Regions from separate parts of the Homo sapiens genome. Here regions 1, 2, 3, 5, 6 and 7 are each linked to region 4. Evidence: promoter capture Hi-C in 16 types of primary human blood cells and fetal thymus (Javierre and others, 2016). All regions are on one chromosome and are shown on one strand. Each heading gives the region's core, a stretch centred on a gene start or on the middle of the fragment in contact. The rest is flanking DNA. Distances are from core to core; before and after follow the strand shown.

Evidence for each region. The method cuts DNA at HindIII sites, captures the fragments that hold promoters and counts their contacts. A CHiCAGO score of 5 or more calls a contact.
Region 1: a contact is called between a fragment that was not itself captured here and the fragment with the promoter of TNPO1 in region 4, in 3 of 17 cell types (M2 macrophages, endothelial precursors and M0 macrophages). The highest score is 8.4, in M2 macrophages.
Region 2: a contact is called between a fragment that was not itself captured here and the fragment with the promoter of TNPO1 in region 4, in 2 of 17 cell types (M2 macrophages and M0 macrophages). The highest score is 6.2, in M2 macrophages.
Region 3: a fragment that was not itself captured here is called in contact with the fragment with the promoter of TNPO1 in region 4 in 4 of 17 cell types (total CD4 T cells, M0 macrophages, total B cells and 1 more); the score reaches 7.1 in total CD4 T cells.
Region 5: a fragment that was not itself captured here is called in contact with the fragment with the promoter of TNPO1 in region 4 in 7 of 17 cell types (M2 macrophages, M0 macrophages, M1 macrophages and 4 more); the score reaches 19.0 in M2 macrophages.
Region 6: a contact is called between a fragment that was not itself captured here and the fragment with the promoter of TNPO1 in region 4, in 2 of 17 cell types (M0 macrophages and M2 macrophages). The highest score is 6.7, in M0 macrophages.
Region 7: a fragment that was not itself captured here is called in contact with the fragment with the promoter of TNPO1 in region 4 in 3 of 17 cell types (M2 macrophages, M0 macrophages and M1 macrophages); the score reaches 7.8 in M2 macrophages.

Annotation. Positions count from the first base shown.
Region 1 is chr5:72,444,792-72,448,105 of GRCh38, reverse strand. It overlaps ZNF366 (zinc finger protein 366), which reads left to right. Exons shown (of 5, transcript NM_152625.3): 4 at 689-863. Among named protein-coding and RNA genes, the nearest start is that of ZNF366, 61 kb to the left of the region's middle. The HindIII fragment of the contact is 3,136 bases long and covers 453-3,314 here.
Region 2 is chr5:72,498,946-72,502,224 of GRCh38, reverse strand. The region is part of intron 1 of ZNF366 (zinc finger protein 366); the gene reads left to right. Among named protein-coding and RNA genes, the nearest start is that of ZNF366, 6.8 kb to the left of the region's middle. The HindIII fragment of the contact is 4,706 bases long and covers 1-3,279 here.
Region 3 is chr5:72,328,265-72,331,729 of GRCh38, reverse strand. It overlaps PTCD2 (pentatricopeptide repeat domain 2), which reads right to left. Exons shown (of 10, transcript NM_024754.5): 4 at 355-472. Among named protein-coding and RNA genes, the nearest start is that of PTCD2, 9.6 kb to the right of the region's middle. The HindIII fragment of the contact is 1,413 bases long and covers 967-2,379 here.
Region 4 is chr5:72,814,987-72,818,322 of GRCh38, reverse strand. TNPO1 (transportin 1) reads right to left here and starts at 1,662. Exons shown (of 25, transcript NM_002270.4): 1 at 1,571-1,662. The coding sequence starts at 1,585. TNPO1-DT (TNPO1 divergent transcript) reads left to right here and starts at 1,775. Exons shown (of 9, transcript NR_186518.1): 1 at 1,775-2,170. RefSeq lists enhancers at 886-935, 2,016-2,095 and silencers at 1,396-1,615, 1,656-1,755. The HindIII fragment of the contact is 3,194 bases long and covers 682-3,336 here.
Region 5 is chr5:72,349,828-72,352,978 of GRCh38, reverse strand. PTCD2 (pentatricopeptide repeat domain 2) reads right to left here. Exons shown (of 10, transcript NM_024754.5): 9 at 225-338. Among named protein-coding and RNA genes, the nearest start is that of PTCD2, 31 kb to the right of the region's middle. The HindIII fragment of the contact is 2,403 bases long and covers 146-2,548 here.
Region 6 is chr5:72,419,803-72,422,885 of GRCh38, reverse strand. No RefSeq gene overlaps it. Among named protein-coding and RNA genes, the nearest start is that of ZNF366, 86 kb to the left of the region's middle. The HindIII fragment of the contact is 465 bases long and covers 1,048-1,512 here.
Region 7 is chr5:72,398,533-72,401,802 of GRCh38, reverse strand. No RefSeq gene overlaps it. Among named protein-coding and RNA genes, the nearest start is that of PTCD2, 80 kb to the right of the region's middle. The HindIII fragment of the contact is 2,201 bases long and covers 517-2,717 here.

The DNA.
Region 1 (3,314 bases), core at 771-3,270, 370 kb after region 4:
CAATAATACAGTGTATTATAATAATACATTGTATATAAGAATACAGTGTACTCTTTTATTCTCTTCTGCCTGATACAGAAGAGTTGTGTTGGGAGACGCACAGTATGGTCTGGTGGTTGACCATGTGTTCTCTGGCATCTGATGGCCTGAGTTCATTAACCCAGCTTCAGCACCCACCACTTGTATGCCTCGGCCAAGTGACGTAAGTCCTCAGATTGTGCGTCTGTAAAATGGGGGTGGTAATAGCAACCATCTCATATGATTGGTGTGAGAATTAAATAAGATATTCCATGGTAGACTTAGAACAATGCCTTCCATATTGCAAATGCTGCATAAATATTAAACACATAATCACATTCTTATTATTAAAGGAGGAACACTTGTAGCCACTGCTTTTTAGATCAGCTCTTCTCCTTTTCAAAAGCTTTTATTCAAAAGAAGCTTTACAAGCTTTGATATTTTTACTTTGAATTTAAAGATCTCTGAAATCCAGGAACAAATCTCATGAATCTACCCCTACTTGCTCCACCTCTGAGGCTCCTTCCTGATTTCCTTATGGACATTTTCCTTGCAAGCAGATTAAAATGTCAATGTCCAAACAAAGTAGAAACGGTATCTGTGCTCCAGGGGCCTGGATGGGGCTTCACTCGGGCAGAGTAACCTGTGTTCTCATCCCCATCTTCAACAGCTTTGTGGGAAGGAATTCAACCGGATGCACAACCTGATGGGCCACATGCACCTGCACTCAGACAGCAAACCCTTCAAGTGCCTCTATTGCCCAAGCAAATTCACCCTGAAGGGGAACCTGACACGCCACATGAAAGTCAAGCATGGAGTCATGGAGCGGGGCCTTCATTCCCAAGGTAATCACTCTTCTGGGAAGCCCTGCAAGTCAGTCCAGTGGACAACAAATGGGAGCTGAATTCGTTTTATGGGGCATTACCTTGAGGGTTATTCTTGTCAAGACCACAGCAGAGTAGCAAGAGTAACCTTATAATGTTACTAGAAAAAATCTGATGCTAATTTCTGACATAGTAAGTACAAGTGAATTAGAGTAAATTGGACTATCATCATGATGCCAGTCGGTACCATTATTTGTTCCTTTGTTCCAGACACTACATCAGGTGGCTTGTCGCTAATATTCATGGCAACTCCAAGCTGGAAGAACTTCTATTATTTCTATTTTACAGCGGGGGAATGAAGGCTTCAAGAGATCAATTTGCCCAAAGTTGCTCTGCTGAAAAGTGGCAGAGTCAAGATTTGAACCTAGGCCTTTCTGACTGTGCAGCCTTTATTGTATCCTCTTCATGACTTTGCTGTGAATGGGCACGCAATTTTTCTTTCCTTTTTAGAAAACAGATGTGCAAGCCTTACTGTTAGCAGAAGTATGTTGGTAGCAGGCTAGGTCTTTCCTACTTGTTCACAATCAGACACACCCAAGGACAATTTTCCTGCTTGGTAGGTAGGGCTGATTGGCCCATATGCAGAGCAGGGGTTTACACCTCCCCCACTGAATCCTCACTGAACTAATGAAAAGTTCTCACTGCCTTTACCTTCTCAGTCCCAGAGCCCTTGGCAGTGAAGAGTTTATGTTCCAGATCTACTCAATTCAGCAGGGTTGCTCCTTAATCGTCTAATCAACCAGCCCTTCAATAAACAGGCAATAAATGCACTTGTGTCCAAAGCAGTGAACTACACGCAGCGGCAGATACTAGGGGAAGGAGACCATCTGCCCTCTAGGATGTCTGTGTTTGCAAAATCATATTAACAGCTTTTCGGTCACTAGTATGATCAAAGCACAGGGTGAGACACCTTAGGGACATTATTGCTTGGCCCTACAATGCCGTGAAAGAGACTGTGTTATTCTCATTTTATATAAGAGGAGACCAAGGCCTAGAGGTGTTAGATAAACTGCTCAAGGTCAAACAGCAAGTCTGAAGACAGAACTGGGATTCCAGCCCAATTTCTGAATCAAGCCAGTGCTCACTACCCTAGGCAGAAACATGGGGTGATTTGTTTATGTGCTGTTTCACTCACCTCCTTACAAAAGAGATGGTGGAGTGGACAAGCATATTCATAAACAGATAGACATATGCACACACAGTGTGAAACAAAATGATTGTAGCTTTCAGGTTTTTTACAGTACCCGCTGAGTTTCTAGTGACTCCTGGATAACAGGGAGCTGTGGTCACAAAAAAAGGGCTGGAGTTTGTGCAAAAGCCCTGAAAAAAATTGTAGTTAAAACAAAAACAATTTTATTTTTCCTGCAAAAGTTTTTCCCCTGAATTATTCACTGAATCTCTAGTTGCCTGAGCCACTTCCCCAAGCTAGACCTGGATTTTTCCGGAAGCGGTGAGGTTTGCTCTGTCATCAGGACGGGAGACATACAAGTCAGTGAGGAGACCACACTCCAACTGAAAGCATGACCTGGTCGCCATGATTTACCCCACACTGCTGCTCAAATCCTAAAAGACACCTAACAGCTCTGTTGTTCTGGAAAAATAACTATCAGAGGGTTGCTTTGAAAAATTTTAACAGACTTTCAACAATCTCAGTGTTTTCATCTACAAAGGGTATTAGCTTTTATTTTTCACTCTAGCTTTTGAAATGGCTCAAAAATCATTAAAAAGATCTTTCCTGTCCCCTGACAGGATTAAAGATACAGACAGCTTCATTGCCTGACAGCATCAAAAAGTGAACAAAATTGGACATCATCGCCCCTACCCTTCTTTTTTCACCCCCTCCCAGAAGCCTGGTCTGGCTGCACCCCAGGACCCCTCCCTTCCTGTTGCTCCTCCTCAGTGTCCCGCCCATCCCTGGAGGCCTGACTATTGGCTCATCAAAGGTCAAAGCCTTAAAGACAGGATCAAATGAAACTGCCATGCTGAAAAGCCCATCCCTACAGCCCTGCAAACTGAAGGCAAAAGTGAGGCCTCCTTGAATCACTGTGCCCAACAGCAGGGACACTGGAGGTCAGACACAGGGGCTGTGTGAGCTCCTCAGAGGACCTCTTCATGCCATCTCTACCCTGTCTATGAGTAGGCTGTTGGCAAAGGGGCCACAGTCAGGGGTGGTGTCTGCTGCCCCAAATAGGTTCTCTTTGTTTTGTTCAAGATGAAAATGGCTTTATTATTGATTTACTTTTGTTTATGATAAAACATATGCTCATGGTAAAAAATAAAACAATAATACATTAAAAGTGAAAAGAGAGTGTTCATTAATTTAAGATTTTGACATCCCTCCTTCCAAATATTTTTTAATAGAAATGGCTAGCTAGATAAAATCAGGTCTGCACTATAAATAAATACACACAC
Region 2 (3,279 bases), core at 579-3,078, 320 kb after region 4:
AGCATGAGGACAGGGACTTTGTTTTGTCCACTGCTGTCTGCCCAGGGCCTACAATAGCACAGAGCCTGTCATAGATGCACAATAAATATTTGTTAAATAGATGAGTTAATGAATCAGTGGGCTGTAGAATGAAAGATGCTATCTTTATACAATGCCAAATGAAGCCATTAATTTGAAAAAAAAAAGTTAGTCAAACTTTTCTGGAGTCTAGACAATGCCAAACTGCCAGCTTGATGGATTTATCCCTCACCTGAATTGACTGGAACTATATGGGCTTGTTCTGCTGTTGTGTGCATGGGGCTGCTACATGTGTATTAAAATGTCGTCTTGGCAAGCACCCCCACCCATTTGTTCATGGGAAATTAACATTTATCAGATAGATACACAGAAAAGACTGTTGTTGCATTTTATTTTCCATTTATTTTCTGGGCAGATGATGGGTTTGCAAATTGTTTTTGGCGAGACAGAGAACGGTCATTTGTTTTTCCTTGACTAAAAGAGCTGTGAGCCAGGATCCAGCCTTGTAGGAAGTGTTCAGCTCTCTGGTTTGTTATAGGCAAAGGCTGTGAATCCAAGCTAAAGGAATGCCACTTGGGCTGAATTGACAAAACACCATGGGGTAAATTCAGGGAGAGAAATGTGATACCCTTGTTGAGCACAATACCCTTTCCTTTCTTTAATTCAAGCCAATTGAAGAAGGCCAAAACCACTGGATCGAGTCAGTTTTATACTTATTTGGCAAATTTAAAGTGGCAAATCTAAACACCTAGTAACAAAAGTTGGGATTTTGGATGATGCTTTTTACATTTAACAACATTGGGGTTCTAGGTGTCTGTTAATTGGAGTAGAAACTGAAAAGGCACTCTCTATTAACATTGATAGAATCTCTCTTTAGTGTCAAGTACCAGGGCACACAAAGAGAATACTGGGCAATTCTCCTATATTCCTTTGATAGATTATGGCCCCACTCTGACCTCATTCTTTGATGGCCACTGATACTAAATGGGAGAGTGATTTACCAACAACGGCACTGCCACCACCAGCGCCAACAATTATGGAGGAGTCATTACTAGGTTTGGGGCCTCCTCAGAACTTTAGATACTTCATTTCACTTACCCCATTCTCAAGTACGTGCCTTATTCTCCTCATCTTAGAGCTGAAGAAAGGCAACCACCTTGTTTAACAGATAAACTACAGAAAGTACGTGATTTGCTCAAGGTCAGTAAATTAATGTTGCTTGTTTTCAGTTTCCTTATAAGGAAAAAGTGTCATCTGTAGCTAATAATTTCTTTAAAACAAATATGTATCCTTTAAGGTAGTAGCCTTCAAATGGGGTCCAAAGACCAACACCATGGCACCACCTAGGAGCTTGTTAGAAATGCAGAATAAATCCCAGCTCCACTGCAGATCAACTGAATCAGAATCAGCATTTTAACAAGATCTCCAAGTGACCAGTTGCACATTCAAGTCTGAGCAGCACTGCCTTATGGTTTTGGACTGTTGCACACAGATTGATCAGGGAATGTAGGACTCTATTCCAAGGAGTTACAAAGCCATTTGTTAACTTTGACCTTGTCCAAGACAACATACCTCCCTATTAAATAGTGGCATTACTGGACAAGTCTCCAATCTATTCAGCTCTGAGCAACAGTAGGCATGATTTCTGTGATCTCTCCCATGAAGTTAACTCCATATCATGGGATCCTAGCACTCTCAGAAAGGGCGAGGGTATTATTTTCAGGTGCTTTCTGAGCACCAATCATCAGAGTTACCTGGGGCAGATTTCTAGGCCTTTCCCCAGATCTAACAAAGCTGAAGAGGGGACCAAGGCTCTGCTTATTATTCAAGCTGCTGGCTCAGGGTAAGGAAGCCCCCAGGGAGGGTAGTGATGAGTATTTCAGGCAGATTACCCTAAAAAATAGTTTAGCTTTTTTCAGTAGCTTGAAAAAAACATTTAAAACCATAGTGCACACATTAGGGCACCGCAGAGTTCTTCCAGGAAGAAAACGTACTCTGCCGCTTTCTTCCTTTGAATGCTTGAGAATAAGGATGAGAAATCTTGCTGTCTGCCCTGTGTCTTCCTCAGGGAGAAAGGGAGGACCCGCTTCTCCAGCATCACAGCCAAAGAGGAGACGCCAGTCCACACGCCTCCCTCTTCCCAGTGAGAAAACTCTGTGGAAAGAATCCTTAGAGTTTCCTTTGCACTGGGGACTCACCGTTCTCTCTTGGAACAGAAATCAAGAGGAGACTATTGTTGGAGGGGTGGGGGAAGGAAGCAGCGCCGGAAGAGAGCGAGGGAGAGGACCGGAATCGCCTCTGGTTTGCTGAAGCCTGGACAAAATGGGGCCTCTGCCTGGATGGAGCCCATGGCATCTCTCCCGTGACTGAGGCCCTCTGGCCACCTTCCATGGAAAGTGCAGGGAGATGAGGAATTTCAGGTTTTCAGCGCTGTTTAATGGAACGCCTACCTCCATAGTGTCCACCACTTGTTTCTTGCTGTTTTTCTAGTTCAGGCATTTTCTTTCCCACGACACGGTGGAATTTCCTCCTCTCACCCCTACTTCCAGAGAACTTTTTCAGTTGTTTTTTTCTTTTTTAAGTACAAAGAAGGGTCTTCTAGCATTATCCTAAAAAATCTATATATTGAACATTTTTAGGGTACCAAAGAGTTCTATGCTTAATCTATAAAGGCGGGGTTGGTGACAGAGCGAGACTCCGTCTCAAAAAAAAAAAAAAAAAAAAAAAGGCAGGATTCCTGAAGTGCTAGAATTTGAATTCTTAGGGTGAGGAATATGTGAAAAGTTCTGAAAGGTTGCTGGCAGGCATATCCAGAATCTCACCTCCTACCTGGCTTTTCAGAGATCTGGGCAAGGAGGGACTATTCCCAGCATCGTCTTTCTTGATATTCAGGAAACAATCAGTGATGCAGCAGGCAAGCAGGCGTTTCCTCCAACATGGTCTGCAGCCCTCCTAGCACCCAGTGATTTCATGGCACAATCACCTGTCTCTGGCTGGGGAGAAGTCTCCAGGGGCAGAGAGTTCTTCTGGTGGCAGCCTGGGCCTCAGATCTAAATGGGGATGTTTGTGAAGGAATAGAGACACCAGTTTTGTGGGTAACAAAGTTCTGCTCAAAACTGCATCATTTTGCAGAAGGCAGTCCCATTCCATGTGTCTTCACATCCTCCATATGTTCAGACACATCCCACTATTTAGAATGACTGACATTGACTCTTTTCCCCCTTGAGTCTCCTAGGAGAGAAATTTCAGCATCACATCTTT
Region 3 (3,465 bases), core at 424-2,923, 490 kb after region 4:
AAAATCGAGAGGGAATACAGGTAAAGGATAGGAATGTCAGTCTTTAAATGGAGACTGTCTTAAGCTCTTCTCTATTGAAAGCCCCTAAAAAAGCAGGTGTACAACCCACATTGATACACATCCAAGGTAGGATCATCTGTACCTATACCTCCTCCACACTTGTTCTATATTACTCCACCCCCCTTCACACAAACTGACTGCAAGGAAACTTAAAAATGCAGAGATGTGCTCATTCAGCCCCAGCAGCCTTTCTTTGAAAATCTAACCCAGGAATAATGTACATAGAAGACATGCCTTTTCCAATATCACCAAAAACACACACATTGGCAGAGAAAACAATTAGGAAACAATAACCTGGTCTTTCATGAGCTCCACTGCAGATTCCTCGAGATCCAACTCGTAACACAACCTCACAAAAAGCGGTCCAAATTTATACTCCCCCAAAGTGAAATTTTTGTTCTCTGCATGGTACCTGGTAATGAAAATGATTCAATGAGCCAAAAGGTAGGACACAGGAAAAAGGACAGACACAGACTATGGCAGGTACTGTGCCAGGTACTGGGACACAACAGAGAACGAAGTCCTCTCACAGTCTGGAGGGGGAGAAATGGAGATTTCAGACAATCAGGAATCCTGGAGTGCAGAAGTACACCAATCATTTAAACAAGTAAACAGAATTTACAGCAGACTGACATAAAATAAAAGAAACAGAGGAAAAACGTATGTTGTAATCATTCTCTAAATTTAGAAACAACCCCTAGACTGAGTGTGAGCACACCTTAAGAAACAGCAGGAGTCTAGTAGCATCTGTAAGTGCATCAGAATGGGCCCCACCCAGAGGAGAACAAGGGAAAGAAGTGGGGGTGATGCTCTGTGCTCCTGGAGGCTGGTTTCATCCTCATATAGGATGGCAGACAACCAACAGTCACATTTACAATTTACAGCAACTCTCTGCTTTTCTAAGCTTGAGAAAGGTACACCTGGGCTATGATCACCTGGCTAAACAAATTAAATGTGGTTTTGAATGTTTAAGTTTTAGGAAAAGGCTAATCTCAAAGATAATGATGTCTTCTATGTGGCTTGAGATTTCTACAGGCAGCCAGTCTGCCAGTCAGAACTGCATATCACTACTGTAAATTTACTTTCAATAACCAATTCTTTTTGCTTTAGACACCAAGAGGACAATATATGACAAAATCAACACCTCATGATTACACATAAATCAGATTTTAGAAAGACTTATTCATTAAGAATCTTCATATTCATATTTCTTTCAGATTTAGATTCATATAATGAGTGAATCTAAAATACCTTGGGGAGAAGCGCTGATGATAAAACAGGATACTTTTTACCTTCTGCTAAAAATCATCGAGGAGTCAGAGTAGTATTACGCTAGTCTATTCTAAATGCATATACTACAATGATACCATAATAGAATGATGAGGTGTACTTTGATACATTTCATTATCCACTTATAGAAGTTACAAATAGGCCGGGCACAGTGGCTCACACCTGTAATCCCAGCACTTTGGGAGGCCGAACCAGGCGGATTATGAGGTCAGGAGATCGAGACCATCTTGGCTAACATGGTGAAACCCCGTCTCTACTGAAAATACAAAAAAAAAAAAAATTAGCCGGGCGTGGTGGCGGGCGCCTGTAATCCCTGCTACTTGGGAGGCTGAGGCAGGAGAATGGCATGAACCCAGGAGGCGGAGCTTGCAGTGAGCCGAGATAGCACCCCTGCACTCCAGCCTGGGCGACAGAGCGAGACTCCATCTCAAAAAAAAAAAAAAGAAGTTATAAATAATATTCATTGCTTCATTACAACACTTATAAATTAAGTTTTTGGAAGGCAATATAGGATAGTGGTTAAGGGTTTTCAGGCTCTGAATCCAAACTGATCATTCAAATCCTAGCTCTTCTACTTGTGTGATGATGAGCAAATTAATTAACTACTCTGTGCTTCCGTCTCCTCATCTGTAAAATGGAAGGAAGAAGAGAACCCAACTCAGTTTTTTTGTGAAGATTAAATGAGATGATGTGCCTGGCACACAAGTCTTCAACATATAAATCTTTATAAAACGTAAGGCATGCTAAGGAAAACATCTTCAAAAATCAACATATTTCAGTAAATATTCTCATGAGAAACTTGTGCCAGATTAAAAGCAAAAGAAAGCAAAAAAAAAGTTTCTGATTTGACATTAACATGCTAAATGACATTCACATTAATAAAAGTGCTAGAAAGTCACTGAGATAATGAATTGCCTTCTGGACAAGAAATGTTCAAGAGGGTCTAAAATCCCTCAATAAACCAAACAGCATTTGGTCAACATAACGAGGGTATTAAGATGCTCCCCATTTTTGGCTCAATAAAAAGCTTATGTTTCAGCTCGTGACTCTCCTTTCCCAGCCACGGGCTGCCTGACTCAGGGAGAAAGAGAACATGTTGGTGGAGCCTTGGATCTACCCATCTTTCCACTTGTCCGGCTGTCTACAAGTAGAGAGGGAAAAGGTCAGCAACTGGGTAGAGATTTATTAGCATCAGTAAAGGAACTAAGTCATACTTTGAATATTTATGATAAAAATAAGAGTAGAAAGAGTGTTCAGGATATTTATCTCATTTTACTACTCTTATAAACATTGAATAGCTTTGTGTAGTAAAATGAGAGGAAAACATGCCAAAGGGAAATGATTTAACTTTGTGAAACTGAAATACGGAATTAAGTTTGTAGATACAGTGTGACTTTAAATTAGCATAACACTTTTGGAAAATAATCTGACAGTTATATATTGATAAACTTTAAAAAGTTCATACCCCCTGATCCCCAAAAGGAAACAAAGAGTAAGTTTTATGCAGCGAGTTTCTCATCATGACATTATTTATACTGGTGAAATATTAGAAAAAACTTCAATGTCCAACAATATGGGCATAGTTGATGAAAATACCTAACATATAATAAATACTGTATTGCCATTAAACTATGATTCCTAAGGATATGATTAACATGAAAATATTTATATTTAGAAAATAATTACACAGCAATAACTATAACAATGTAAAGCAAAATCTACCAAAACAATGAAATCTTTACATCTGTGAAAAAAAAAAATGCAAAAATATTAACAGTGGTTTCTTAGATGGGAGCAACAGGCCCCAAAGATGGCTGCCATCAATTTCTTCCCTCTCTGTATGTGCATATGGCTCCATCCATCCAGAGGTAGAATCCTTTTCCCCTCCCCTTGACTTTGGTCTGGCCAGGCAACTTGCCTTAACCAAGAGAAGCCATGCCAATTCTGGGCAGCTCTATCATGCCTGGCAGCTCCCATCTGGGCTGTGGGCCAGTGCAGCTCAAACCAACAAATGAATAATGAGGCACTCCAGAAAGACAGGGAGAGGCCACATGGAGGAGCAATGAGGCATCACAAACTCAAGAGAGGACTTCTTGGACCATGTAGTACAGCCCA
Region 4 (3,336 bases), core at 413-2,912:
TTTACAAAAATCTTATTCTGCTCACATTATATAATGGTAATAAAGCCACTGAGAGTTGAGGTAGAAGTGCAAACAAGATTTTTATAGATATTTCAGTGGGAGGAATTTAATAATTCCTGACTAGGAGAAAGATGCAGCCACATCAAGGGTGGCGGCCCCTTTTAGGAAAAAGAAAACAGAACACTAGTACTTCATTAGGCTCACGTTAAATTGCATGAAGTAAAAATCGTACTGCCAAGCTAGTATAAATTTATGCACTGCATAGCTAGAGACTAAAAAAGATATCTGCACCTACAAACTATTGTTTCCCTTTTGTGGTTGCTAATTTTCATCCTGGCACAGCCTTCTCTAGGAACAACTACGGTGCCAGGTAAGGTGAAAGTGGAAAACAGATCCTTTCCCAAAAAACGGAACTTTCCCCTTTTCCACTAAACATAGCTTCTTCACCACTCTAACATGAAAGCTTTGATATAACAGGGAAACTTAAAAAGCTGCAGGAACTTTTGTTATTCTAAAAGTGAGTAGTACGTCAGGACAGCCATTTTACAACCTTCATTTCCAAACACCTATTACACCATACATCTTGCAATTTTAAAAGTATCTTTTCTTTAGGGTAAAAAAAGTACCACTTACACATTCATCATTTAAGTCATTACTGTTTCAAAGGACAGTTATTAAGCTTCTTAATACAGCTGTCAAAATCAATTTGTAGATAGCCTCCAATTTCAAATTTCTACATTTACATCTACTGATAGACCATCCTGATTAGCGATTAAGATAACAGACTTAAACTCTAAGCAATCCTTGCAAAATCCAGTTGATTTTTAAAATCAGTAAGCAACACGCGATCATTTTTAAAGAAAGTCATTCCGAAAATAGCTTGATTGTGGTGGCCAATCTGCTCCTCAGCAGCTGTTCCCTGTTGCTTGTACGCATGGGAGTGGAGGTAGAAGGGCAAAACCCACAAGCCCACGCAAAACTCGTACAGTCACAAACATTATGTAAACATGTCGTGAGGCCAAGAGGCCCCAAGGAGAAAGAACCGCCGGGAGGAAGAGAACGGCAAGCTGCATGTAAGGACGATGGGCGCTGTGTGCGGACGCAGGAGACCCGGGCAGAGGGGCCCAGGGCGGGACAAAGACTGGCCCATCTCGGGCAGCGCCGGCCAGCGCCCAGAACCAGTGAAAGGCAGCCGTCCCGGGGCAGCCGACTGCAGCACTCAAGGGCCCTCAAACGCCACAGCTTAACAGGCGAGGCAAACGCTCCCCTGAATGTAAGACCCTTCCCTTCCCGCCCCTTGTAACGGGCTCCTGCCGCCCCTAACGGGATCCTCGGACGCTTGAGGAGCCGCCGTCGCCTGCTCCCTACCCGGGTCCCGCAGGGCGCCTGGGCGGGCAGCTGTTGGGGTTAGAACCGCGCCGCCGCTGCCTCTCGGCTTCAAACGGCCGGGCAGGCGCCGAGAGAGCGGGCGAGCCCGGCGTCTCTCCCGTAGGCGCGTCAGGCAGCTCGGCGCTCCCAGCCTCCGTTCCCGCCCCTGCAGTTCGGGGCCGCGCACCCTCACGCCACCTACCCGGTCCCACACCATCCCAGACGCCTCGGGCGCTCGGGCCTTCGGCCGAAGCGGCACTGCCTCCTGTCCGGGGCCTGAAATGGCTGCGGAACAAAGAGAATCTGGGCTTCACCGAGCGCCGGTCCGATTGGCCGGGGGGCGGAGCCCGCGGCGGGAACATTCGGCGGCGGTCGCCTTGGCAACGGCGGCGGGGCTAGGAAAATTGCTGCCTGGGTCGGCTGGGCCTGTGGGCCTGCGTCCGACAGCGCGCGGCCGTGCTTTCTAAGCGGGCTCGGCAGCACCAGACTTCACCGGCCCGGCGCGGGGCTCACAAGTGCTCGCACTCCCTGCGGCCGGCGCGCTGACCGGAGCCTCTGGGTCTCGCACGCAGCAGCTGCAGACGCTGCCCGGCGCGGTGGGGCTGTGAGCAAAACGGCCCGCCGGTGTGGTTGCCCAGACTGTGCTGGGCCCTCCTAGGTGGATGGCCCTGCCCCAGCCTAACTTCTGTACCCCAGCATAACCTCCAAAGTAACAGCCGTGCCCTGGGAGCCTGTTCAACACTGAACATATCCCACAATAACACTGTTCCAGCGTCGCTGGTAAAAAGCAGAAATGGCTTCGGTAGGTAGACGCCGGTGGATGGCTGCCCGCTTAGAACAAGATAGGCTTTTGACGTATGTTGTATCTGGCGTATAAACTACTATGTAATTAGAATTCAGTGATTTATAAAATGTTTACGCCTCCAGGTGTTCAATCCTATAAAACTGTAGTTTCTTGCTCTTAGAAATAACAAGCCTTTCTCTCCCTAACCTGCCATCATGAGAAATTAAAATGTCCTGTATTTTCTGTACGGCAAATGATTCAAAATGGGAGTGGTGGACGTTTTTATACCCAACTGCAACAAGGGTAATGAGATAAATATCAGTTTCCTTCCCTCAGATTATTCTTATATGTAAAATTTACTGTATAAAAATACTTAAAATTTGCATAGCTAGCTGATTTTTATTTTCTAAGGTGATGATGCCCGTGATAATATTCCTCACATGATCAGTGTGAGTAGAAATACCAGCAGTTCCGACTATCTTACTGGAAGTGCTGTATATATTTTGAAAATGTGTGACAGTTGTTGCCTTCCTGTCATAGTTTAGGTAAAATTACAGTACATAATACTAGAAAATGTCTAAATTTTTACTAAGGTAATTTATTTGTTCTTCTAAACGTGTTAACAATTTTCATTTGAATTACAGTCATTTTGCAGGAACAACTAGTTTATTTAACTTAAAATTTGAGACTAAAAGTACCATTTTTTAATCATTGGGAAATTGAACTTAGCAAGGGAAAATATAGATAACTAAAATATTCATGATTTCAACATGTTATAATATTAATTTGATAGTAATTGGATACAGTAGTGTATATCAAAAAGAGCCCCCCCCCCCAAATAGGAGTAGATTACCAAGAAAAAAATGTAATATAAACTTTTCTGAATGGTAGTTTATCTGCAGGAAAATATACCCAGAAAAAGTATATTTATCCAAATAACAAATGGCTTATTTCTGCATTTGAAAAGTTACATCGTGGACTAGGATCTATACAAATCAGAAGATGTGTAGTATTTGCATTCTACTTTGCTAAAGGAAAAAACACAAATATTTCTAAAATCCAAAAGATTAGCAAATAATGACAGATGTAAATACTACTGACTAAGCAATTAGTAGGAGTTCACTTGATTAATAGTTTGGAAATAGCTGAAATGAATTGAAGAAAAAGTAACATATTATTTAGCA
Region 5 (3,151 bases), core at 98-2,597, 470 kb after region 4:
AATAAGGTAAAAGGGAAAAGTTTCCTAGAATTTCAGAGGATATATTCTGTTGGAAGAAAAAAAAATCTTTGCACATATACATGGAAGTCTTAAAACAGGAACAACAGAGAAGCTGCCATATTTGGCAATTTCTTTAAGGTAAGCTTTAGAATTGAGAAATTAGTGGACATTTTTAAGAGTGTCCTTTCACTTTTAAATGATTTCTGCAGCACTTGCATACTCACCACTTCCTCCGAGAACACATGTCTTTTCACAAATTTTGATAAATTTCCTTCTGCAGCATTTTTTAGAGTCTTTATCAGGTTTTCCAACATATTTGACTGGATATGGATTATAATCTGAATATTAAGAAGACACAAGCAAAACCAAGACTGAGTGAGTGTCTCAATGCTGAGAAATGTACCTGGTTAGATAAGCCTTCATTTATAGGCACCTACCCTGCTTTGATCCTACTTCCTAATTTATTTGCTTACACAAGTTCAAAAACGTGCTTTAAATGTACACTTACGAGCCAAAATGTGCTTTCCAATAGTTAATCAAAAACTACAACTTTGCCTGTAATCCCAGCACTTTGGGAGGCCAAGGTGGGCAGATCACGAGGTCAAGAGATAGAGACCATTCTGGCCAACATGGTGAAACCCCATCTCTACTAAAAATACAAAAATTAGCCGAGAGTGGTGACATGAACCTGTAATCCCAGCTACTTGGGAGGCTGAGGCAGGAGAATCACTTGAACCTGAGAGGCGGAGGTTGCAGTGAGACGAGATTGCGGCACTGCACTGCAGCCTGGCAACAGAGCAAGACTCCATCTCAAAAAAATAAAATAAAATACTACAACTTCAAAACTTGTTTACGGGTAACACTGGAGAGGGCAGAGATTTTGGTGTCTGGATACTCGGGCTGAAATCTAGACACTGGCAAGTACCAGCTAAGTGACTCTGGACTGGTACTTAATCTTTCAATTTAAATGCCCTCATTTGTAAAATGGGGAAAATAGATTTAGATCTCACATTTTGGGTTTTATGAACATTAAATAAAATACCAGTATACAGAAGATACTCAATGAACAAAAATACTGGTTTCCTCCTTTCTACATCCTCTAGATTCAGAGGATATGACAATCAATCTCATAAGACTAGTGATATGGTTTGGCTTTGTGTCCCCACCCAAATTTCATCTCGAATGATAATCTCCAGTGTCGGGGGAGGGACATGGTGGGAGGTGATTGGATCATGGGGGCAGTTTCCCCCATGCTGTTCTCATGATAGTCAGTGTGTTCTCATGAAAACTGATGGTTTTATAAGTGGCAGTTGCCCCTGCTCTCTCCCTTTCCTGCTGCCTTGTGAAGAAGACACTTGCTTCTCCTTCGCCTTCCCCCATGACTGTATTTCCTGAGGCCTCCCCAGCCATGTGATACTGTGAGTCAATTAAACTTCTTTCCTTTATAAATTACCCAATCTCTGGCAATTCTTTATAGCAGTGTGAAAATGGATAACAGTAACTGGCTAGGGGCAAATGGTACCTTCAGCGTTTTCTGTTTTTAGGAAGTTGCAGGCACACAGGTTACTGCAGGCACAGAGTGGAAGCTGGCTGGAATGTTAATGAGGCACTCCTATTTACGCTATCTATTAATGAACTTTCAAAACTGGGTACTGTAGTGTGCTTTCGGAATGATACTACCACCTATCTTCCACCAACTTGTGCACAACTATCTTGTGCAACTAACACAAGAAAAAAGAACACATCTCCCCCCAATTACCAATATTTACTAGTATAATTCAAGAAGAAGTTTAAAGAAAGTGAGAATAACTGAGAACTCACCAACCAATGTTACAACCACTGTTTATAATTTGATGTATAAATCTTCCAAATATATTAACTTATCCCCAAAATTTGATTCTACTTTTGGTCAATTACTACACAACAGACATTTATTTCCTCATAGCATTAATATTAGAAAAAAGAAACCTCATTTTTAACACATACATAGCAATTCATCACGGAAATATACCATACTTTATTATACTGAACAATGTGCACATATGTACTTTTAAAAACTGGTAATGTCTTAGACTTGATTCCCAGAAGTAAAATTACCAAGTCAAAGCATAGAGACATTTTTAAGGCTCTTGATCCTTACAAAGATAGTTTTCCTGGAAGAGATTTACCTTTTTTATATTAAACCAGCTATGTTTTCTTACCAGTCTACTTGGCAACATTTTGCATTTGTTGAGTAACTTATCAGGATGAGGGGTTGTCTTTGGTTCGGAAGAACAGAATGAAATGATCCCAGGTAAACTAAATACAAAGAACCCAATTTAAATTCAGTGTTCTAAAGCCCAGGCAAAATCACGAGCACACCCTTTTTGGGAGACAACTTTCCATGCGTCTCTCAAATTTCTGCATGCCTTGAGAGCAAAAGCACTGACTGCTTTTATTCCAGACTATCTTTTCAAGGATGTTTGTGGACAACAAACACAGTGTTGCATCCAAAGCAAAGGACAGGCATGCTTACTGGCCATTATAAGAGATTTGGGTTTCCTAAGCTTAGGGTTCCTCTCTTGAAAGCAACTTCCTATGTGTGCAAGAGGCACATAGAGCTTTTCATGTCTCCCCACAGGAACTGGGGCTCAGGAAACTGATGCAAAGATGCTAATATTCTGGCTACTGCTACATAATAAATTGTCCTTTATTTCTCTGTGTCTTGTATACTCCACTAGCATCCGTGAAACTGGGGCAGGCTAACTCATTAGCTTACAAGTGGGATAAAATCTCTGACTCTTCACAGTTCTTAACACCTTTGTTAATAAAAACCATCCCAGTTTGGTTGATGGTGGTGTCCTCTCAAAGGCAAAGACAAGTCTACCTTGTTCAATGCAGTGCTATGTAGTACAAGGCAACTGGCCAGCCCTCGATAACAATAAACAAGAAGAGGAGCTTGGTTCCCCCAGCAATTTACAAAAATAAACCATCTAGAGCCCTCTGCTAGAAATGATGTGCTCCCTGGGAGATTTCAATATTTATTCCTAAGTTTTCCCAACTTCTCTTCCTCCCTCCAGCAACTATTTCTGAATCAGCAGGGATTTCAAAAATAAGGCTCATTACCTTAAAATACACTGATGAAGGGCAATGCACATAAGGCAGTCACCGA
Region 6 (3,083 bases), core at 31-2,530, 400 kb after region 4:
TGGCAGACCATCCACATCAATTTGCAAAAAAAAAAAAAAATCATCTTGTTCTTGCCATAATTGACGAGGGCCAACAATTAAGTGCCCTAATTGAACAGGGCTGATAATAACAGCTGAAATAATGGCCAACACCACAAACATCTCAACTGGTTCAGCTTATACATGTGACTGAAGAATTAAAATTGAACAAACTTTCCATTCAATGAGTGCCAAAACTGTTGTGCCCAGATCAGCTGAAACAAGAGCAGAGCTTTCAATGGATATTTTAAACAAGTGGGATCAAGATCCTGAAGCATTTCTTTGAAGAACTGTAACAGAAAATGAAACATGGCTTTACCAGGACAATCCTGAAGACAAAGCCCAATCAGAGCAATGGCTACCAAGAGTGGCCCAGTCAAGAGCAAAGGTCATGGCAACAGTGTTTTGGGATGCTCAACTCACTTAGCTGTTGACTTTCTGGAGAGCCAAATAACAACAGTGTCTGCTTATTATGAGAGTGCTCGAGAAAGCCAAAGCTTTAGCAGAAACACACACACACAAACACACGCCTGGGAAAGCTTCACTGGAGAGTCCTTCTTTACCACAACAATGCTCCTGCTCATTCATCTCATCAAACATGGGCAATTTTGTAAAAGTTTTGATGGAAAATCTTTAGGCATCCACCTTACAGTCCTGATTTGGCTCTTTCTGACTTCTCTTTGTTTCCTAATCTTAAAAAAAATTTTTTAAAGGGCACCCATTTTTATTCTGTTAAATATATAAATTAGACTTCATTGACATGGTTACATTTCCAGGGCCCTCAGTTCTTTAAGGATGGACTAAATGGCTGGTATCATGGCTTACAAAAGCGTCTTGACCTTGATGGAGCTTATGTTGAGACATAAAGTTTATATTTTGTAATTTTTATCTTTCAATTTTGTTTTTCCATGAACTTTTGAAATCCTCTTTTATTAGCACCAGGACAGATTAATTCTTGCTGAATAAACTCCTGGAGCCACCCTGGTTCTGACTGTTGTATAGTCTGATTCTGACCATGAGCTTTAAGCTTCTTGATAATCCCTCCAACAAATTCCATTTTTGTTTACCGTAGCCATAGTCTGTTTCTGCTGCTACTAACCTAAGAACCTTATTGAATGATATCCATACACTCTCCATTGTGTCCAGAAGAAGACAGAAAGCAGAATGAGGCATCTGAGATTTCAAATATTTAAGAGAGAGATAGGTATTTTAATACAGCTAGAGCCTTTATATAAAAGGAGAAGTGGCCTAAGAGTCTATAAAAAAATCTGAAGATATTATTTTTAAAAAATGATCTTGGGGTAAAAGAAAACAGACAGGAAGGTAAGGAAGCAAATGAGTGGCTAAGGCCACTTCAGTGGAATCAGATTGTAAAAGATCACACACACAAGATCAAAAAGTAGTACCTGACTAGGAGAAAAAAGAAAGATTGGTGGAGAGGAGTCGAAATTATAGCCAGAAGGCTGAAGCCAAGAAAAAAAATTAATCAAAGCTTATGAAAAAATCTAGAGGCATCAAAATGGCTTTTGTTGGATACAACCAGAGAGAAAATGGCCGGAACTGTGTAATGAGGCTCAAGTTCTAAAGCTAATGGAAGATGGTGAGTAGAACTTCTTTACAGCTCTATTTTGCTTCTGTCTTCTCTATGAAAATGAGAAAGCTTCAAAACCTGAAGGTGTAGAACAAACGTGGTTGCACTGAAGTCCAAGATAGGGGCCAAGATAGTAAGAGAACAAGGAGCCTTCGTGAAAGACTTTGATTCTTCAGACTTGGATACATTCTAGCTCAAGACATAAGAACTAATAAAAATAATTGTAGAATCGCTGCCATTAATTTTTGGAAAATCAAAAAGAATAGAAAAAGTGTCTGAAAATTGGAGATGGACAAATGGCTTTATTTCTGAAAGCCGGTAAGGCAATACAATTAAAAAAATTATATATAATAGAGACAGGGTCGTACTACGTTGCCCAGGCTGGTCTTGAACTCCTGGGCACAAGTGATCCTCCTGCCTCAGCCTCCCAAAGTGCTGGAATTACAGACATGAGCCACCACGCCTGGCCAGTAGTACGATATTGAAGTTTGGAATCTACAAATAGTCAATTTAATATGAAGCCCGGTTATTTGGGAATTACAAGAGTTAGATTACCATATCTGTAGGCTGCATATTATCGTATCTGTAGGCTGCATATTATCGTAACTTAAACAGATAAGGCCCCTCACATTATCCGTCTGAATAACATAGAAAACTGGACTAAGAGTGCAAGTACACGAATTTTTTTTTTTTTTTTTTTTTTTTTTTTTTTTTTTTTTTTTTTTTTTTTGAGACGTAGTCTCGCTTTGTCTCCCAGGCTGGAGTGCAGTGGCGCGATCTCGGCTGGGCTGACTGCAAGCTCCGCCTCCCAGGTACACGCCATTCTCCTGCCTCAGCCTCCCGAGTAGCTGGGTCTACAGGCACCCGCCACTACGCCCGGCAAATATTTTGTATTTTTTAGTAGAGACGGGGTTTCACTGTGTTAGCCCGGATGGTCTCGATATCCTGACCTCGTGATCCACCCGCCTCGGCCTCCCAGAGTGCTGGGATTACAGGCAGGAGCCACCGCGTCCGGCCCGTGAATTTCTAACTGGTTAAAAACTGCTACACAAGAAGTGCTGAATTGTGAATCAGTAGTCTTCCGGAGGGAAAAATATTGGGCTATGAGGCGGGATTCTGTTTTTGTTTATACCATACGATATTTTATCAACAACATGCACAAAAACACAGAAGCCACTTTGTGGCTGACTCAGAGCTAGAAGAAATAGTAAATACTCTAGATGTAAGACTGAATCTAAAAATTACTGCTATGGGTCATTTATGTGTGGAAATTTGTTTATGGATAATTTAGAAAGATATTTATTAAGATTCTAGAAAGATATACACCGAAGTATTCACAATGATTAACTGTGGGTGAGTGGCATAATAAAATTTTAATGTTATTTTTTGTTTATCTGCACTTCATAGTATTTTTGTAATGAGCAAATATTCCTTTCATTAAAAAACAATAAAAAAGATTTATTTCAAAAAGAAA
Region 7 (3,270 bases), core at 368-2,867, 420 kb after region 4:
ACTTAATGCTAGACCTGTACTAATTTGCACTATAGAATTCTTTTTAAAAAAATAATTTTTATTTTTGAGACAGGGTCTTGCTGTGTTGCCAAGGCTGGGATGTGGTGACACGATCTTTGCTCACGGTAACCTCCACCTACCAGGCTCAAATGATTCTCCCACATCAGCCTCCTGAGTAGCTGGGACTACAGGTGTATGCCACCATGCCTGGCTAGTTTTTTGTATTTTTTGTGGAGATGAGGTCTTGCCATGTTGCCCAGGCTGGTCTTGAATTCTTGGACTCAAGCAATTTGCCTGCCTTGGCCTCCCAAAGTGCTGGGACTACAGGCATGAGCCACCATGCCTGGTCTGCACTATAGATTTCTGAAATTAAACTCTAGAATTAAGCAAATCTGATGCATACCATGATGATGAAGACAAATACAGAAGACAATACAATTTCTGTGTAATTCAGAAATGTGAGTGATAGATTTATTTATTCACTCATTCATTTATTCAATAAATATCCAATAAGCTTCTGGTCAGGGGGTCACTGTACAACCCTAGGGCATACCATTCATAGATATCTCCATGCTGGGGAAACAAGGGATACTTCCTGTAACAGCCCAACAGGTTATCCTTGCCTGCTGCCCAGATAAAGCCAATTTGTCAAGACAGGGGAATTGCAATAGAGAAAGAGTTTAATTCGCACAGAGCTAGCTGACTGGGTGACAGGAGTTTTATTACTCAAATCAGTATCTCCAAAAATTCAGAGGCTAGGGTTTACAAGGATAATTTGGTGGGAAGGGGAATTGGTGCTGCTGATTGTTTGGGGATGCAATCATAAGAGTGTGAAAAACAGTCCTTGCACACTGAGTCCACTTCTGGATGGGGGCCATAGGACCAGTTGAGTCAAGAGCTGTGGGTCCGGGTGGGGACATTTGCAGAAATGCAAAAGCCTGAAAAGACATCTCAAAAGGCCAGTCTTAGATTCTATAATAGTGATGTTATCTGCAGGAATAACTGGGGGAAGGTGCAAACCTTGTGACCTCCAGAATAATGGCTGGTAATCATTTATGCCTACATTTTAGCAGATTTCAGGCTCTTCTCATCTTCCTAACCTGGTAGTCTTCCATTAGTTTTGCAAATGCAGTTTAGTTTGGGGAAGGGCAGTTATTATTTAAACTATAAACTACATTTCTCCCAAAGTTAGCTTGGGCCAAGCCCAGGAATGACTAAGGGCAGTTTGGAGGTTAAAGGCAAGATGGAGATTGGTTATATCAGATCTCTTTCACTGTCATACTTTTCTCACTGTTATAATTTTTGCAAGGTGGTTTCATCCCTGCCTTCAAGGGCCTCATGGTGCAGTGTGGGAAGGGACAAGCAGTCAGGCCATGCAATACAGAATGGAAGGACCCGAGATGGCATGGTTAATAACTGTGATCCTGGGATCTCACAGGTGGGACACTTATCTCAGCCTTAGGGGATCAACAGAAGCTACCTGGGAGAGGCTGTACCTGAGAAGACTCTGAGAGAACAGACAGGACCTAGTCAGGCTAAGAAGAGGGAGAACAGTCCAGGGCGAGGATTCAGCCTGTGTAAATTCAAGAAAAAGAGGGAGACAAGGTGGGATAGCTAGAGGAAGCCATTTTACACCAGCTCAGTAGACAGAGGAAAGGAGATTTGCCAAGAAAGAAGAGGAGAGAAGGGGAAGGGCGGGGTAGGAAGGAAAGGGGAGGGAAAGGAAGGAGAGAGCAAGGGGTCAGAGAAAAGGATTTAGCCAGAGCCCAAGGCTGCCCTGGTTCTCACCCTCCGCACAGCCTAGTGATCAGATTCCCCTGAGTTTTCAGCCTGTGAGTCCTTTTCCTGCATTAGCATGGGACCACACTGTTCCTTACAATCAAAAGAATCGTAATCCTAACAGGGGCTCTTGATATTCAACAGGCTGAAATGTAAGTAGGCCTTTTCATCTTTTAGCATGTAGTAAATAAGCATGTGGTTTTGAACAGAGTAATTCCAACTTTGCCATTTTGATAGTCTGAGTACAAACCACTCCTGAGGATTGGAGGTGCAAACAGCTTGTTTTGCCACATTATTTCCCATCGCTTTACATGAAGCGATGTAAATCCCTTTTGCTACTTTGCCTTACATCTGCCCACTTGAAAAAATTCTTGCTCTGAATTCCTCCCTTCTAAGTCTTTGCTGCTTAAGAGTTGAGCACCCAACCAGTATTTTCTCTAGTCATCTCATAGTTGTTATCCCATAGAGAAAATACTGGTTGTGGATTTTTCAACAGATTTTAACCAGATTTCAACTTAACAATGCAACATATTCTAGTGGGAAAAGTGCTACAAAATAAGTTTTAAAATGACAAAGCAAGCCTTATATTTTCCCAAATATCATTTCCTTTATCTTCATAATTCCTATACTTTAAAAATCAAAATATGAAAACCTAGTTCAGTGAATAATAACTGCCTAACAACAATAACAAAAATAGCTTAACCCCATTTTGAAGAATTCATTCTTTTCTCTCCATTTTAGCACTTCCTAGTCAATCATCATCTATTAATTTTTTTCACACCACATTCAGAAACCGATAACACAGTTAGTGAACGTAAACATCTGTAGTCTACCTCTTTTACAGTTTTGTTCCTCATTTTTCTTCCCACTTCCCCTTAAGGAGGATTTTTCTCTCTTTCCTAAATGGGCTCAAACTCCTAATTCATCCTTTAAAAGCTTTTGCAGGATCTTATTTTCTCATGTACAATGCCTTTAGGGCTTTAATCCCAACACAAAGATCTTCAAAAATACAGCGGCTATTTTTGAAAGGAAAAAAGAAATTCTAAGAAGTCTGGTTGCAATTGTTAGACCGTTCTGCAAACAGTTATAACCATAAAGTAAAACAGAATAAATTTCACAGATGGTACTACTTCGTAAACATCAATGGTTCTCATTTTCTTAGCCAGACCCTCTAAATATCATCATCTTCTTCAATTATTAAAAAAAAGACAATGTACCATTGGGGTCATTCATGTCCCTTTTCTCACATCATGCCTTCTATTGTCTGCTTAATCTTTTCTTATTACCAGTGGGTTTCAGTCCATCCCACCATTCCTTTGCCTTTACACTAAATGGGTCATGACTGAGGGCTTAACATTCAGCACCCAGCAATCAAGGCCACCTCTCTTCATTCCCACTGTCAGCCATGGGTGACACTTGTCACCCTCTGGCTGAAGCCCTCCCTTCACATTCCCATGGTGTGTGAACCACATTCTGTCTCTACTTCTCCCT